Regions from separate parts of the Homo sapiens genome. Here region 1 is linked to region 2. The links are contacts of gene promoters, found by promoter capture Hi-C in human tissues and cell types (Jung and others, 2019). All regions are on one chromosome and are shown on one strand. Each heading gives the region's core, a stretch centred on a gene start or on the middle of the fragment in contact. The rest is flanking DNA. Distances are from core to core; before and after follow the strand shown. Region 1 holds the start of APOBEC3C (apolipoprotein B mRNA editing enzyme catalytic subunit 3C). Region 2 overlaps PICK1 (protein interacting with PRKCA 1).

Evidence for each region. The method cuts DNA at HindIII sites, captures the fragments that hold promoters and counts their contacts. A contact is called where the count stands out against the background at its distance.
Region 1: a contact is called between the fragment with the promoter of APOBEC3C here and a fragment that was not itself captured in region 2, in 1 of the 25 tissues and cell types used here (dorsolateral prefrontal cortex).

Annotation. Positions count from the first base shown.
Region 1 is chr22:39,012,540-39,018,347 of GRCh38, forward strand. It overlaps APOBEC3C (apolipoprotein B mRNA editing enzyme catalytic subunit 3C), which reads left to right and starts at 1,718. Exons shown (of 4, transcript NM_014508.3): 1 at 1,718-1,840; 2 at 3,056-3,212; 3 at 5,227-5,506; 4 at 5,730-5,808. The coding sequence starts at 1,824. RefSeq lists enhancers at 930-1,548, 1,525-1,819, 1,549-2,166, 1,739-1,848 and a silencer at 1,959-2,008. The HindIII fragment of the contact is 14,453 bases long and covers 1-5,808 here.
Region 2 is chr22:38,059,320-38,065,085 of GRCh38, forward strand. PICK1 (protein interacting with PRKCA 1) reads left to right here. Exons shown (of 13, transcript NM_012407.4): 3 at 1-26; 4 at 5,683-5,766. Among named protein-coding and RNA genes, the nearest start is that of PICK1, 4.8 kb to the left of the region's middle. The HindIII fragment of the contact is 9,593 bases long and covers 1-5,766 here.

The sequences.
Region 1 (5,808 bases), core at 468-2,967, 950 kb after region 2:
AAGATTATTTCAAGGATACAATGTACATTCATTCCTCCAAAATATGCTTAGATGAACTTAAATAATCAGAAAGTTGTGTGTGTATGTGTTTCACATTTTCTTGGTCCACACGGAACCCCTTGAGAGGTCCCTGTGGGCCGTGAGCCTGTTTGTAGACACTTGCTTCCACCGCTTGATGTCGCAGACATCGCAGTCCCTGATGTAGGGTCTGGCCCTATGGGGCTTAGTGGGTGTTCTCCCCGTGTGTGGAGATGAGAAATCGTAAAAAGTAAAGACACAAGACAAAGAGATAAAGCGAAAACAGCTGGGCCCGGGGGACCACTACCATCAAGACACGGAGATGGGTAGTGGCCCCAAATGGTTGCGTGCACTGTTATTTATTGCATACAAGACAAGGGGGGCAGGGTAAGGAGGGTGAGTCGTCCAAGTGATTGATAAGGTCGAGCAAGTCACGTGATCATAGGACAGGGGGCCCTTCCCTTATAGGTAGCCGAAGCAGAGAGGGAAGGCAGTATACGTCAGCGTTTTCTTCTATGCACCTATCAGAAAGATCAAAGACTTTAAGACTTTCACTATTTCTTCTACCGCTATCTTCTGAGAACTTCAAAGAGGGACCAGGAGTACAGGAGGAAAGTGGACAAGGAGCGTGACCATTGAAGCACAGCATCACAGGGAGGGGTTTAGGCCTCCGGATGGCTGCAGGCAGGCCTGGATACTATCCAGCCTCCCACAAGAAGCTGGTGGAGCTGAGCGTTCCCTGACTCCTCCAAGAAAAGGGAGACTCCCTTTCGTGGTCCGCTAAGTAACGATGCCTTCCTAGGCACTGGCGTTACCGCCTGACCAAGGAGCCCTCCAGTAGCCCTTATGCGGGTGTGACAGAGGGCTCACCTCTTGCATTCTCGGTCACTTCTCACAACAGCCCTTCAGCACCTGACCCTATACCCACCGGTTATTTCTTGGTTATATTAGTAATACAATAAAGAGTAATATTAAAAGCTAATGATTAATAATATCTACACTAATGATTGATAATGTCCATGATCATCTCTGTATCTAATTTGTATTATAACTATTCTTATTGTAAGTATATTCTTTATTATACTGAAACAGTTTGTGCCTTCAGTCTCTTGCCTCAGCACCTAGGTAATCCTCCGCCCACATCTCTGAGGGGCTGAACTGCCCCCCACCTTCTGGAAGCTGGGAGGTTGGAAGAGGGGATGCGTGCGATGGACTCAGCACACAGCTGGGAACTCGAGGCACACCTAAGCCTTCGCTTGTGCTGTGCGGAGTCCACACTTCCTTCCCCACTGGGGTCTCAAAACCTCCCCTCACTCAACAGGGTGGTGCTGCTCAAAGCTCTGGGCACACATTAGGGCTGGGGAGGGGGTGGTGGAGAGGGGGCTCCAGCCTGCCCAACCACCAGGCAACGGGGCACCTGCCCCTCTCTCAGCTGGGTCTGGACCCGCGTCCCAGGCTCAGGCTGCAATGCCTTTCTCTTTCTCTTTCTCTTCTTTTTGCAGTTCCGTTGGGTCCTGCCCAGGACAGATAAAGACAGAGCAGCCTGTCTTTATCGGAGGTTCCTCTGCCAGTAGGAGGGGCCCGGAGAAAACCAGAAAGAGGGCCAGAGCCAGAGAAACATGAAGCACCCCGGGGCCTCCCACACCAGTGCCTGAGCAGGAATGGGGAGGGGCCATGATTCACAAGGCCCTGGGAGGTCACTTTAAAGAGGGCTGCTCAACTGCAAGGACGCTGTAAGCAGGAAGAGAAGCCACAGCGCTTCAGAAAAGAGTGGGACAGGGACAAGCATATCTAAGAGGCTGAACATGAATCCACAGATCAGGTACCTCTGCACGCTTTGTCCGCCAGGCCCCTCCTGCCACTTCCTGCCAGGCGGTCCTGCTGGGCCTCAGCCCTGGCCTCCCCCTGCCCCAGCCCCACCTCTGGGCTCCCTCCCCCCTGGTTCCCCCGCTGCCCCCACTCCCAGCCAAGCTCCTTGCCCTGCTGTGTGGTCCCACGACTGCTGCTTCTGAATGGGCCACCTTCCCCACTTGCCCCAGCCCAGTCCGCCTGCTGAGACTCTCCCCCGAAAATCATGCCCGGGCTGGTGCTTCCCGCCCTGGGAGGGTGCTTCCTCTGTGTGCTTCCCACTATTCCTGGGAGCTCTGGAACTGGGAGAATTGAACCAAAGGATGATTTGAGCAATCAGGCATTTTGTTCTCAGCGCTTTGGTGCAATTTCTGTAAGATTTACTTTGTTTCAATACAAAGTCTTAGGAGAGGGTGTGGGGGAGGGAATGGTCTCTGTACCAGAAAATAAGTCACTTCTTCCAAAGATGCCTCCACTGTGAGCAGAGTAGGATGCACACGACCCCAGACACAGGCTCCTCCTCTGTGAGCACCGTTCACCTTTCAGAATGACACCTGCAACATGGAGTGTAGGAAAAAATATGATGATCAGGAGAAATGCTCTTATTTTAGGCCAGGCACGGTGGCTTATGCCTGTAATCCTAGCACTTTGGGAGGCTGAGGCGGGCGGGTCACTTGTGGTCAGGAGTTTGAGACCAGCCTGACTAACATGGTGAAACCTCGTCTCTACTGAAAATACAGAAAATTAGCCAGGGGTGCTGGCGGGCGTCTGTAATCCCAGCTACTTGGGAGGCTGAGGCAGGAGAATCCCTTGAACCCGAGGGGTGGAGGTTGCAGTGAGCTGAGATTGCAAACTCCAGCCTGGGGGACAGAGCGAGATGCCGTCTTTAAAAAAAAAAAAAAAAAAGTAGCAGAAAAACTGGGAGGTTGAGGGTGTTCCATTGGTAGCCCCAGAGCTGGGGTTCCAGCTAGGAGAGGTCACCCCGGCCCTGCTGCCCCTGCCAGCGTCCCCTCCTCTTTCTCTCTCCCCGTCTTCCTGCCTGGGAAAGCAGCAGACATTCTCAGGGCTGTGGAGGGATGGGGGAGGCCCAGAGCCCAGGGACGTCCAGGCAGCTGTGTTCAGTGGGCATCAGCCCTGAGGACTCCGGTGCGGGGGTCTCTGCATTGGGGTTTCTCTCTTGTGCCTTCAGAAACCCGATGAAGGCAATGTATCCAGGCACATTCTACTTCCAATTTAAAAACCTATGGGAAGCCAACGATCGGAACGAAACTTGGCTGTGCTTCACCGTGGAAGGTATAAAGCGCCGCTCAGTTGTCTCCTGGAAGACGGGCGTCTTCCGAAACCAGGTAGCACCAAAGTCCTAGTTACACCCTAAATAGGAGCTAAGCAGCTGGGAATGCAGAAAACGCAACAATAAGTGATGTGCCCGGCGTGGGCTCTCCTGTGTGCACTTTCCTGCCACATTTCTATTTTTTTTTTTTTTTTTTTGAGATGGAGTCTCGCTCTGTCACCCAGGCTGGAATGCAGTGGTCTGATTTCAGCTCACGGCAACCTCTGCTTTCCAGGTTCACGCGATTCTCCTGCCTCAGTCTCCCGAGTAGCTGGGATTACAGGCACCTGCCACCATGCCCAGCCAATTCTTTTGTATTTTTAGTAGAAACAGGATTTTGCCATGTTGGCCAGGCTGGTTTCGAACTCCTGACCTCAAGTGATCCACCAGCCTTGGCCTCCCAAAGTGCTAGGATTACATGCGTGAGACACCATGCCCCTGGCCTCCTCCCCACATTATTTATTTATTTATTTATTTATTTTGAGACGGAGTCTTGCTCTATCGCCCAGGCTGGAGTGCAGTGGCACAATCTCAGCTCACTGCAAGCTCCGCCTCCCGGGTTCACGCCATTCTCCTGCCTCAGCCTCCCAAGTAGCTGGGACTACAGGCGCCCACCACCATGCCCAGCTAATTTTTTCTTTTTTTCTTTTTTTTTTTTTTTTTAGTAGAGACGGGGTTTCATGGTGTTAGCCAAGATGGTCTCGATCTCCTGACCTCATGATCCGCCCGCCTTGGCCTCCCAAAGTGCTGGGATTACAGGCATGAGCCACTGTGCCCGGCCTCCCCACATTTTTTAAGTCCATGGCCCAGATCTTCCTCCCTGACTCTCCTGTGATCAGATCGTGGAGGGGGTTTGCTTCCTCCCAAAAGGCCTTGTTTAGCGCCCAGCACCCTCACTCTTGACTTTGTTTCCCAAAATCTTGTTATGGAGCTGTGCGTCCGGCAGTCCTCGGGAATCAGCAGCTGTGGGAAGCGGGGGGTGTTGTGTCCAGCGCTGTGTCTGGGCCAGTGACTGCGGGCTGGTGGGGCCGCCCCCGCCACTGCCCTGATTCCTCAGCAGAAGGCAGGCAGGGAACAAAGCTGACCCCAGAGAGCCAGGCCATAGCAGGGGCTGAGGATGCCTGGTGAATGGATGCCTGGGAGAAAAGATGGCAGAATTCACACATGAGTCTATGAGACAGGGAAAGAATCAATAAAATAAAGAAGGAAGGGGCCGGGCACGGCGCGGTGGCTCATGCCTGTAATCCCAGCACTTTGGGAGGCTGAGGCAGGCGGATCATGAGGTTGGGAGTTCGAGACCAGCCTGGCTAACATGATGAAACCCAGTCTCTACTAAAAATACAAAGATTAGCCAGGTGTGGGGGTGCATGCCTGTAGTCCCAGCTACTCAGGAGGCTGAGGCAGGAGAATTGCTTGAACCTGGGAGGCAGAGGTTGCAGTGAGCCGAGATTGTGCCACTGCACTCCAGCCTTGGCGACAGAGCAAGACTCCATCTTTGAAAAAAATAAAAATAAAAGAATAAAGAGAGAAGGAGAAGGATAGAAGAAGGGAAACTCAATGAATAAAACACCCTGGGGCCTACTATGTAGCCAGAAAAATGAAAAGTAAAGAAATAAAATAAGGCTGTGCATGTGGTTTATGCTCATAGTCCCAGAGCTTTGGGAGGGTGAGGCAGGAGGATCGCTTGAGCCCAAGAGTTCAAGATCAGCCTGGGCAACATGGTGAAACCCCGTCTCTAAAAAAATTATTTAAAAAATTAGGCAGGTGTGGCGGCATGCACCTGCATCCCAGCTTATCAGGAGGCTGAGGTGGGAAGATTCCTTGAGCCTGGGAGGTCAAGGCTGCAGTCAGCCCAGATCCCACCACTGCACCCCCTAACCTGTGCACCAGAGAGAGACCCTGTCTCAAAAATGAGTAAATAAGGAAACGGCCCGGGGCTCCAGGCCCGCCCTCTGCTCCCATCGCCCCACCCCTGCACTCCTCCTGCTCCTGGTCTGAGCTCCCCTGTCCTCCTCCTCCTCCTTCGCCAGGTGGATTCTGAGACCCATTGTCATGCAGAAAGGTGCTTCCTCTCTTGGTTCTGCGACGACATACTGTCTCCTAACACAAAGTACCAGGTCACCTGGTACACATCTTGGAGCCCTTGCCCAGACTGTGCAGGGGAGGTGGCCGAGTTCCTGGCCAGGCACAGCAACGTGAATCTCACCATCTTCACCGCCCGCCTCTACTACTTCCAGTATCCATGTTACCAGGAGGGGCTCCGCAGCCTGAGTCAGGAAGGGGTCGCTGTGGAGATCATGGACTATGAAGGTGAGACGTGGGGGGCTGAGGAGAGTGGGTGCAGGAGGGACAGCATGAGGGGCAGATGGTTCTCCAATGCTGTGGGGCGGGTCAGTGTCCCCTGGGTGTCTGTGGGGACCGGGCCAGCGCCCACTGCAACTGGCAGCCTGGATACCTGGGCTGGGAGGGGAGGGCCCAGGGCCAGGAGAGAGGCCTGCTGGGCCCTCACTGTTTTCTCCTTGTTTTTTCTCAGATTTTAAATATTGTTGGGAAAACTTTGTGTACAATGATAATGAGCCATTCAAGCCTTGGAAGGGATTAAAAACCAACTT
Region 2 (5,766 bases), core at 3,181-5,680:
ACTGTCCCTGCCTCTATATCGTCCAGGTATTGGGCGCTTTGGAGGGGGGCACAAGGTACATCCCTACTTGGGCATGACAAAGGCAGGTTCATTTCTCCACACTGCATAGCTGACTCCTTCTCATTCTTGAGGTCTGACCCTCTCAGAGGGGCTTTCTGACCACCTGCGCTGCGTTGCTCTGCCCTGTCTTCTCCCCTGTGTCGCTCTGTTTTTTTCCTTCTCGGCACTTATTACTTGTTATTTGCCCTCTGTCTAGTAGAGTAGACTCTTTGCACTGAGGGCAGTGTCCTGGTTTGCTTTTTCACTGCAGTAAGCACCAGGTACAGTGCCTGGCACATAGTGGACATGCAATAGAAATTGACTATTGAATCAACAAAACCATCAGCCTTGCGTACTAGCCAAAATGAAGTGTCATAGGAACACGATGAAATAATGGCCTGAGTTCAAATGCAAGCTTCTTTCCTACTTACTAGCAAGTTACTTAACCTCTTTGGGCCTCAGTTTCATCACCTAGAAAGCGGGGATTTAAAACATGTAGACACAATCATCTCTGGGTTCTTGTGAGAAGTCAACAAAACGACCTAACACACTAGAAGTTAAGAAACGTGCATTGGCCAGGCATAGTGGCTCACACCTGTAATCCCAGCACTTTGGGAGGCCGAGGTGGGTGGATCACGAGGTCAGGAGTTCGAGACCAGCCTGGCCAACATGGTGAAACCCCGTCTCTACTAAAATACAAAAATTAGCTGGGCGTGGTGGTGCACGCCTGTACTTCCAGCTACTTGGGAGGCTGAAGTAGGAGAATCGCTTGAACCTGGAAAGTAGAGGTTGCAGTGAGCTGAGATCACGCCACTGCATTCCGTGCATTCCAGCCTGGGTGACCGAGTGAGACCCTGTTTCAAAAAAAAGAAAGAACCATGCATTAAGCAGTAGCTGCTGCTATTTTCCAGGTAGCTGTACATTTTCCCAGATGCTCTGCCAGTGGTGAGGAACACTCTTGTGTCTCTTGCAGAGGAAGCTGCACTGGTGATATTCTGTCCACTGTAACTCAGGAGTGGTGACAGGCCTGCTGTGGGGCCTCCTTCACTGTGTGGCTCATCCAAGTCAGTGACCTTGCTGTAGCCTTGGGAATACCTGTTCTAACCCTCTCACTGGTGGCAGATGGGAAACTGGCCTCTGTGAGGATCTTGCTCAGGAGTCGCTTGTAGGCCTCGAAGACAGATTCCCAGGATCGACCTGGTCTTGCTTCTGCTCACAGTGCTGCCTCCTTCATGAGCCATTCGGCCTCCTGTGACCCAGGAGGCATTAGCAAGACCTCCCCCAGGCCTGGCCTCCTGGCCGTGTGTCTGCTCAGCCTCTCGCCACCTCCCTCTACCTACCTCAGGTGCAAGTTTGCTTAGAATGAACAGACATCATAAAATAGTATAATTGATTTTTTTTTTTTTTTGAGACAGAGTCTCACTGTGTTGCCCAGGCTGGAGTGCAGTGGCGTGATCTCAGCTCACTGCAACCTCTGCCTCCTGGATTCAAACGATTCTCATGCCTCAGCCTCCCGAGTAGCTGGTATTACAGGTGTGCGCCATCATGCCCAGCTAATTTTCGTATTTGTAGGAGAGAGAGGTTTTAGCTATGTTGGCCGGCCTGGTCTCGAACTCCTGGCCTCAAGCGATCCACCCACCTCAGCCTCCCAAAGTGCTAGGATTACAGGCATGAACCACCAGCCAATAAAATAATAGAACTGGCCGGGTGCGGTGGCTCACACCTGTAATCCCAGCACTTTGGGAGGCTGAGGTGGGCAGATCACCTGAGGTGAAAACTTCCAGACAAGCTTGGCCAACATGGTGAAACCCTGTCTCTACTAAAATACAAAAATTAGCCAGGCATGATGGCGGGTTCCTGTAATCCCAGCTACTTGGGAGGCTGAGACAGGAGAATCGCTTGAACCCGGGAGATGGTGGTTGCAGTAAGCCGAGATCGTGCCATTGCACTCCAGCCTGGGCAGTTGAGTGAGACTCCGTCTCAAAAATAATAATAATCATCATCATCATAGAATTGATTTTTTTAAATTCAATTTTGTTTTTATCAAAGTGCCATATGACTTGCCTCTACCAAGTCAAGAGCATTAAAAGCCCTGTATCAAATAATAGCAATCCACTGCCCTTCCCCTGGGCACCTCACCCGGCTTTCTCTGTCTCTTCATGCATGGGCTTCCATTTTTCTCAATAGTCTCACTCTGTCGCCCAGGCTGGAGTGCAGTGGTGCAAGCATGGGTCACTGCAGCCTTGATTTCCCCAGACTCAGATGATTCTCCCACTTGAGCCTCCAAGTAGCTGGGATTACAGGCACGTGCCACCAAACCTGGCTAATTTTTGTGTATTTTTTGTAGAGACGGTGTTTTGCCATGTTGCCCAGGCTTGTCTCAAACTCTTGGGTTCAAGTGATCCACCCGCCTCAGCCTCCCAAAGTGCTGGGATTACAGGCGTGAGCCACCGTGCTCAGCCTATCCTGTTGTTTCTTGATCTATCACCTGTAAATATCTATTGACTTTGCCTCGTCTGGTAGATGAGAATTTAGTTCTTCCCATGACCAGTCTGTTTCCTCTCATCCCACCTTTCCAACATAGTTATTTTTCTATTTTTGGCTAAATTAATATTAGTACAACGGAGATTTTGTTCGGGAAATCTTTTCCAGATGCCTCCTAGGCTCTGTTGTAGGCACTAGGGATAAAAGAATAAGAAAGCAAAGATCCTACTCTTGCGGAGCCCTCATTCTAGTCAAAACAACTCTATGTTTAACTTTCTGAGGAATCTATGTTTCTTTTCTTAATTCAGCCTGTTCTTGTGTTTTGAGAGGGTGGGGGTAATTTCCTGTTTTGTTTTTTTCATTTGCACTCTCCTTGTTTTCTCAGTATGTTTTCCACAATTTCCCATCTTTTTTTTTTTTTTTTTAAATTAAGTCTTGCTCTGTTGCCAGGCTGGAGTGCAATGGCGTGATCTTGGCTCACTGCAACCTCCAGCCCCCGGGTTCAAGTGATTCCCCTGCCTCAGCCTCCGAAGTAGCTGGGATTACAGGCACGTGCCACCACGCCTGGCTAATTCTTGTATTTTTAGTAGAGACGGGGTTTCACCATGTTGGTCAGGCTGGTCTCGAACTCCTGACTTCAAGTGATCCACCTGCCTCGACCTCCCAAAGTGCTGGGATTACAGGCGTGAGCCACCATGCCCGGCCCCATTTTCTTCAGTCTGTTTTCCGCCCTGTAGTCTCTCCCCCTTGTGCCCTCCCCCTGCCCCTGCCCCTTCTCTTTGGATTCCCCCATCTTGGGGGTCCCTTTCCTGGTTTACTCCCTGATCTCCCGTGGAGAATATCCTCCTGTAGCTTTCTGAGAAAGGGCACGTGGGATGTCAATTTTTTGAGACCTCGGGTCTGTCTTTTTTGGTCATTGTGGTTCCCATATTCCTTTCAGTTGACATTTTGGCTCATTCGATTCAAGAATGAACGTCAAGGTTGACAGTAATTCCTGTGTGGAAGTGTGATGGCCTTGTCACATTGTCCTTTGCTGTCACATGGCTATTGCCATTCTTATTGGTGATCCTTTATTTGTGATGTGTTTTATTTCTGATCTGTGAGAACTTTGAGGACTTTGTTTTTGTCCCTGGTGTTGGGAGGAGTCGTGATGGTAGCTGCAGGCACAGGCTTTTGTTTATTGTGCCAGATCCTCAGAGGGCGTCATCGGGAACACCATGTCCTTCTTGTCATGTATCTCGATGATGACATCCTGCTTTCTGTATTCTCTGTTCTGCTTTTTTCTATTTTTTTATTGTGGTAAAATTTACCATCTTAACTTTTTTTTTTTTTGAGACAGGATCTTGCTCTGTCGCCCAGGCTGGAGTGCAGGGGTGCGATCATGGCTCACTGCAGCCTCAACCTCCTGGGCTCAAGCGATCCTCCCACCTCAGACCCCCGAGTAGCTGGGACTACAGGCACGCGCCACCATGCCTGGCTCATTTTTGTATTTTTTTTGTAGAGACAGAGTTTTGCCATATTGCCCAGGCGATCTTCCCACCTCGGTTTCCCAAAATGCTGGGATTACAGGTGCGCACCACCGTGCCCAGCCCTTGGTCTATTTTTGAATTAGGTTGTTTGGTTTTTGTTGTTGAGTTTTAAGAATTCTCTACAAAGCACAATCGGCTAAGAGGAAAAAAAGAAAAAAGAGTTTTAGGAATTCTGCATATATTCTGGATATTAATCCCTTATCAAAAATGTGATTTGCAAATATTTTCTCCCATTCTGTGGGTTGCCTTTCTTTTCTTCTCTTCTCTGTTCTTTTTTTTTTTTTTTTTCGAGACAGTGTCTCACTCTGTTGCCCAAGCTGGAGTACAGTGACGGGATCTCAGCTCACTGCAGCCTCTGTTTCCCAGGCTCAAGCGATCCTCCCACCTCAGCCTCCCAAGTAGCTGGGACTACAGGCGTACACCACCATGCCCAGCTAATTTTCGTGTTTTTTGTAGAGACAAGGTTTTGCCACATTGCCCAGACTGGATGGTGTATTTTGATGCACCAGTTTTAAAATTTTTATGAAGTTCAATTTGTTTATTTTTTGTTACTTGGATCTTAGGTGTCACATCCAAGAAATTACTGTAAACTCCAATGTCGTGAAGGTTTTGGACTAGGCATTTTTCTGAGTTTTATAGTTTTAACTTTTACATTTAGGTCTTTGAACAATTTTGAGTTAATTATTATTATTATTATTATCTTCGAGACAGAGTCTCGTTCTGTTGCTCAGGCTGGAGTGCAGTGACATGATCTCGGCTTACTACAACCTCCACTTCCCAGGTTCAAGCGATTCTCCTGCCTCAGCCTTCTGAGTAGCTGGGACTGCAGGCGCCTGCCACCATGCCCAGCTAATTTTTGTATTTTTAGTAGAGATGGGGTTTCGCCATGTTGGCCAGGTTACTCTCGAATTCCTGACCTCAGGTGATCTGCCTGCCTTGGCCTCCCAGAGTGTTGGAATTACAGGTGTGAGCCACTGCGCCTGGCCTTGAGTTAATTTTTGTATGTGGTGTTAAGTAGTGTCAACTTCATTTTTCACATACCATTGTTGAAATGACTGTCCTTCCCCATTGAATGTTCTTGACACCCTTGTCAAAAATCATTTGATGCCGCCGGGCACGGTGGCTCACACCTGTAATCCCAGCACTTTGGGAGGCCAAAGCAGGTGGATCACCTGAGGTCGGGAGTTTGAGACCAGCCTGACCAACATGGAGAAACCCTGTCTCTACTAAAGATACGAAATTAGCCGGGCGTGGTAGCGCATGCCTGTAACCCCAGCTACTCGGGAGGCTGAGGCAGGAGAATTGCTTGAACCCGGGAGGCGGAGGTTGCGGTGAGCGAGATGGCGCTATTGCACTCCAGCCTGGGCAACAAGAGCGAAACGCCGACTCAAAAAAAAGAAATCATTTGACTATGTATTTGAGGCAGGAGAATTGCTGGAGCCCAGGAGTTCAGTGCCACAGTGAGCTGTGATCACGCCACTGCACTCCAGCCCGGGTGGTGAGACGCTTTCTCAAAAAACGAGAGCAGAGGGTAGAGTGGAAGACAGAGCCAGGCAGTGGTCAGGTGTCTTCCCAGGTTCCATCTTAGCCCTCCCTTTCTTCCCCCACCACTCTCCTTATGCACCCACAGGTATTTGACAACACCCCAGCAGCCTTGGACGGCACAGTGGCAGCTGGCGATGAGATCACCGGTGTCAATGGCAGGTCAATCAAA